Linked DNA regions of Homo sapiens: region 2 is linked to region 1. Evidence: promoter capture Hi-C in human tissues and cell types (Jung and others, 2019). All regions are on one chromosome and are shown on one strand. The core of a region is centred on a gene start or on the middle of the fragment in contact, and the rest is flanking DNA. Distances in the headings are between cores, read along the strand shown. Region 1 holds the start of CDO1 (cysteine dioxygenase type 1). Region 2 overlaps LOC105379136 (a long non-coding RNA gene).

Region 1 (2,800 bases), core at 213-2,712:
CTTACCCCTTTCTCCTAACCCTAAACCCAAAAAACCACAAAGACTGACGCACTAACTGCTCAGAAAAAGTAGAACCTCTCACACTTCGGGGTGATTAAATTTTACCTCTGGCCCCGGAGGATTGGTAGAGAGATTCGACTTAATCACCAAGCCGGGGCTGCAAAAAAGCCAGCTTACCAGGGCACCTCACTCAAGTACATCTGGGAAGTAGGGGTCTTTAATTTACATTACAGATCGTCAGAAGCAAGGATAAGATAAATCAGATCATTTGGGGGCTGAAAAAAACGACGGTCGAATATTTAATCTGCGAAACTTGGCAGTGGATTTGAATAAACCCACAGTCGGGGAAGTTAGTTAAATTGGTTTGGGAAAGGGAACAGCAGAAATTCCGTAGTGGCAGCTGACGGCCACAAGACGCTATTTTACATGAGTAAAAATGCTTGCTATAAGGTGCCCGGTTGCAGGCGACCGAAGGCGCAGTGATGGAGAACTGACGCGGGTGACTTGTCTTCTTCAACATCACACACTTCTCCCGATGGCTGATGTAGTGCTCCCCTGGGAGCACCCTCTGCTAGTCCGGCCAGACGGTTCCTTAAGGTGTCAGGAGGGCCCGAACCTGAGTGCGGTCTCTCCGCATCTCCGCGCCCGGGGTTAACGATGGCTTGGGAGTGTGGGCATTGCTCCCGAGGCCAGGGGCAGGAGGACTGGTGGTTTAGAAGCAGAGGGGTTTGCGGGAGAGAAGAGAACAGAAAATCTCGCAGACGCGCGGTGGCCTCCCTTCCCGGCGCCTGTCCGCCGTTCCCGGCCGGAGGTCAGCAAGGCCAGTAGGATCCACCTTCCGCCTGCGCTGTGGCCGCGGAGCCCCAAGCGAGTCGTGCCAGCCCCGCGGCTGGCCAGCGAGGGGGCGAGCGGCGGACGCAGCGCGGCCCGAGCTTCCCGAGCCAGTCACTTTGGGCTGCGTCCCCCACGTCCATTCCTCCTCAGACGGGGCGAGTGGGCGCCGCCTGGCATTGAAGCTGCAGCGCGCTCACCTGTACTGGTCGAACTTGGCGTACATTGCCCACTCGGTGGGGTCGCTCTCGTAGGCTTCCATGATGGCCTGCACCTCCTCTACATTGACCTCATCGCCGGCAAAGAGCTGGTGCAGGATGCGGATCAGATCAGCCAGGGTCCGTGGCTTCAGCACTTCGGTCTGTTCCATCTCGTGGGGAGCTGGCTGCGCGCGCGTCTCACTGCTGGGCTGCGGTGGAGGAGCTGAGCGAGCCAAGGAGCTGGGGGCGAGGGAGCCTAACAGCCCGCTAGACCGCTAAGCAGACACACACGCACAAACCCAGCATTAGAGTGCCGAAACGTAAGGATGTCGTCGCAGAGACAGCAAGAGACCCACCCCCAGGCCCCTGGCAGCGCAGTGGATCCGGGATCGCTGGAGACGCGGTGCACACACAAATCAGGTTCAGATCTGTGGGGTTCATCCTCCCGGGCCCCTTTTAAGCGCTTGGAGTCACTAGGAATGTACCAACGGCCCTCGGAGGGAGGACGAGGCGGAGAGCCACCCAAGAAAGGTGGCGGAGGCGGGGAGACCCTGCGGGCACGGCTCACGCGCACATCCCCGGCTTCCCCGGGCTCCGCGCCTTCCCAAGAGCCCCGTTGTCTCCGGCGTCCCAGGGATCGCGTGGGCTCCGCGCAATCTCTCCCCCACTTTAACGGCGCGTTTTAGCCGCCCGGCCTAACGCCTCTCCCCGCTCCACCTCCGCCGCTGTGGTTCGCGACGCTGGGACGTAGACAAAAAGGGTCGGAGGAGATGGCTGCGGGGACTGACGCTGAGTAAAGGAGGAAAAGAAAAGGGAAGGAGAGGGACACTTCTTCCAAATAGAGAATTGTGAGGAGCCTGCGAAAATTGAGGATGGATTCCACTCCTAGGCCAGAGAGTGCCTGTTTTGTCGATTGAAACTATCCACGATATGCCCCAGGCTAGGTGAAAATAAGTCCAAGACTTTATATATATATATATTTAAGTATACACACACACATATTTTTTAAAATGCGTACTGAAATATATTTTGACAAAGGAGACTCGGGTCTCTAGTAAGACAATTAGTGAAATGATGGAAAACCAAGAACTCTTTGATTTTAAAATCAAATATTTTCTTTTAAAAAATATCCAGTGCAAATAACCTGATATTTCATTTGATGGTGTAAAAGGGGGCTTTTTCTGAGGGGATAGGGCGGGCTCTGACGCAATAATTTAAGAGGCTATAATTATATTTGAATCTTTCAACCTTAGGCATGTGCTTGAAGGAGCCTGCTAGTACATACATATAAGGAAACACGTTTCTACGTCATGCATAGCACCTAGTACGTTGGGAACAACACAAATCAAGTACAGTAGGATTTAAATGAGAAAGATGTGAAAGGTGGAAGAAATGCAAGTGTAGATTTCTTCCTTCTCATTATGGATGGACGCAGGGAATAATTTGGATTTAAGGTTATTAAAGTTCTAGACTTCTGAAGACCTGTTTTTTTCTAGACTATGATCACCCTCCCTCGTGTATATACATGTATACAATGAAATTTACTTGTGCCAGGTAGTCTTAAACATCTCTGGTAAAACTCGCTACATTATATTCTAACAGTGTTGTTAAAAGCGGAATCACCTATTGTTCAAAAATGGCTACAAGTAGAAAGCATTCCAGAAGCCAGCCTTGGTGATGTGTGTTGCTGCGGGGTAGTGAATTAACAAAGTATTTTGTGACAGAGTAACCTGTAAACTTTTCATGGTTTCCTCAAATTATTTTTTATT
Region 2 (2,800 bases), core at 91-2,590, 1.1 Mb after region 1:
ATGTAATAGATTTATTGTTCCTTGTAATATATGAATAAAATTTTTAAAAATTAGTTTTAATTTCAAATATTAAGAGATATAACTCATGTAAAAAAGCCCATTGGAGAGCTTCAGTGATTTTTAAATGAGGGGTTCTGAGTTCAAGGAGTTTGAGAACTGCTAGCATATCTTAATCTCTCAGTTTGAAAATCTCCCTCTCAACTACAGGCATGCCTCATTTTATTGCACGTTTCTTTATTGCACTTTACAGATATTGAGTTTTTTTTTTTTACAATTTGAAGGTTTATGGCAACCCTACATTAAGCAAATCTATTGGCACCATTTTTTCAACAGCATGTGCTCACTTTGTATTTCTGTGTCACATGTTGGCAATTCTCACAATATTTCAAACGTTTTCATTATTATATTTGTAATGGTGATCAGTGATCGGTGATCTTTGATGTTACTATTGTAATTATTTTGGCATCCCTTGAACCATGCCCGTATAAGATGGCAAAACTGAACTGATAAACATTGTACGTGTTCTGACTCTTCCACTGACCAGCCGTTTCCTCTCTCCCTCTCCTTGGGCGTCCCTGTTCTCTGAGATAAAAAGATCTTGAAATTAGGCCCATTAACAACCCTTCAGTGGCCTCCACTTAGAGTGAAAGGAAGAGTTTCAAGTCTCTCACCTTAAATCAAAAGCAAGAAATTACTAAGCTTAGTGAGGAAGGCATGTCAAAAGCTGAGACAGGCTGCAAGCTAGGCCTCTCGTGCCAGATAGATGAGTTGCTAATACAAAGGAAAGTACTTGAAGCAAATTAAAAGTGCTACTCCAGTGAACACACAAATGATATGAAAGCAAAACAACCTTATTGCTGATACAGAGAAAGTGTTATTGGTCTGGAATAAAGATCAAGCCAGCCACAACATTCCCTTAAACCAAAACCTAATCCAGAGCAAGGCCCTAACTCTTTTCAAATCTGTGGAGGCTGAGAGAGGTGAGGAAGCTGCAGAAGAAAAGTTTGAGGTTAGCAGAAGCTGATTCAGGAGGTTTAAGGAAAGAAGCTGTCTCCATAACTTACAAGTGCAAGGTGAAGTAGCGTGTGCTGATGTGGAAGCTGCGGAGGTTATCCGGAAGATCTAGCTTAGATAATTGGTGAAGGTGGCTACAGTAAACAAAAGATTTTTAATTTAGACAAAACAGCCTTATGTTAGAGGAAGGTGCCATCTAGGACTTTCATAGCTGGAGACGAGAAGTCAGTGCCCAGCTTCAAAGGACAGGCTGACTCTCTTGTTAGCAGTTAATGTAGCTGGTGACTTTAAGTTGAAGCCAATGCTCATTTACCATTCTGAACACCTTAGGTCCCTTAAGAATTATGCTGTATCAACTCAGCCTGGGCTCTATAAATGGAGCAACAAGGTCTGAACATCTGTAAACATCTGTTTACAGCCTGCTTTACTGACCACCTTAAGCCAGCTGTTGTGGCCTACTACTCAGAAAAAAGACTCCTTTCAAAATATGATTTCTTATTGACAATGTACATAGTCAAGCAAGAGCTCTGATAGAAATGTACAAGGAGATTGGTGTTGTTTTTAATGCCTGCTAATATAACATTTATTCTGCAGCCCATAGATCAAAGCGTCATTTTTACTTTCAAGTTGTATTATTTAAAAATACATTTCATAATGCTATAGCTGCCATAGGTAGTAATTCCTCTGATGGATCTGGGCAAAGTAAATTGAAAATCTTTTGGAAAGGATTTAGCATTCTAGATGCCATTAAGAACATTGGTGGTTCACAGGAGAAGGTCAAGATATCAACAGAAGCAAGAGTTTGGAAGAAGTTGCTTTCAACCCTCATGAATGAGTTTGAGAGGTCCAAGACTTTAGTGGAAGAAGTATTTGCAGATGTGGTGGAAATGGAAAGAGAACTAAAATTAGAAGTGGAGACTAATGATGGGACTGAATTGCTGTAATCTCATGGTAAAACTTGAATGGATGAGGGTTGCCTCTTTTTTTAACTGCTAATTTATGTTCAGGGTACATGTGCAGGTTTGTTACATAGGTAAACTTGTGTTGTGAAGGTTTGTTGTACAGATTATTTCGTCACCCATGTATTAAGCCTAATACCCATTAGTTATCCTTCCTGATCCTCTCCATCCTCTCAACCTTCATCCTCTAATAGGTCCCAGTTTGTGTTTTTCCCTCTCTGCACCCATGTGTTCTTACCATTTAGCTCCCACTTATAAGTGAGAACATGCGGTATTCGGTTTTCTGTTCCTGTGTTAGTTTGCCAAGGATAATGGCCTCCAGCTCCACACATGTCCCTGCAAAGGCCATGGTCTCGTATAAGTTGTTCTCTTAAAAGACGTGTACACATGTATGTTCATTGCAGCACTATTCACAATAGCAAAGACATGGAATCAACCTAAATGTCCATCAATAATAGACTGGATGAAGAAAATGTGGTACATATACACCATGGAATAATGTAGCCATAAAAAAGAGAGTTGCTTCTTATGGATACACAGACAGTGGTTCTTGAGATGGATTCTACTCCTGGTAAAGGTGCTATGAACATTGTTGAAATGACAACAAAGGATTTAGAACATTTAATAAACTTAGTTGATAAAGCAGCAGCAAGTTTTGAGAGGACCGACTTCAATTTTGGAAGAAATTCTACCGTAGGTAAAATGCTATCAAATGCTATCAAACACTATCACATGCTACAGAGAAATCGTTTGTGAAAGGAAGAATTCATTGATGTGGCAAACTTTACTGTTGCCCTATTTTAGTGAATTGCCACAGCCACCCCAAC

The links. Contacts are between HindIII fragments. The study calls those that stand out against the background at their distance.
Region 2: a fragment that was not itself captured here is called in contact with the fragment with the promoter of CDO1 in region 1 in 1 of the 25 tissues and cell types used here (small bowel).

The regions. Positions count from the first base shown.
Region 1 is chr5:115,815,197-115,817,996 of GRCh38, forward strand. CDO1 (cysteine dioxygenase type 1) reads right to left here and starts at 1,463. Exons shown (of 5, transcript NM_001801.3): 1 at 1,032-1,463. The coding sequence starts at 1,201. LOC124901049 (a long non-coding RNA gene) reads left to right here and starts at 1,892. Exons shown (of 2, transcript XR_007058908.1): 1 at 1,892-1,975. The HindIII fragment of the contact is 9,051 bases long and covers 1-2,800 here.
Region 2 is chr5:116,905,351-116,908,150 of GRCh38, forward strand. The region is part of intron 1 of LOC105379136 (a long non-coding RNA gene); the gene reads left to right. All of the region lies in intron 2 of LOC105379135 (a long non-coding RNA gene), which reads right to left. Among named protein-coding and RNA genes, the nearest start is that of LINC02214, 140 kb to the left of the region's middle. The HindIII fragment of the contact is 7,340 bases long and covers 1-2,800 here.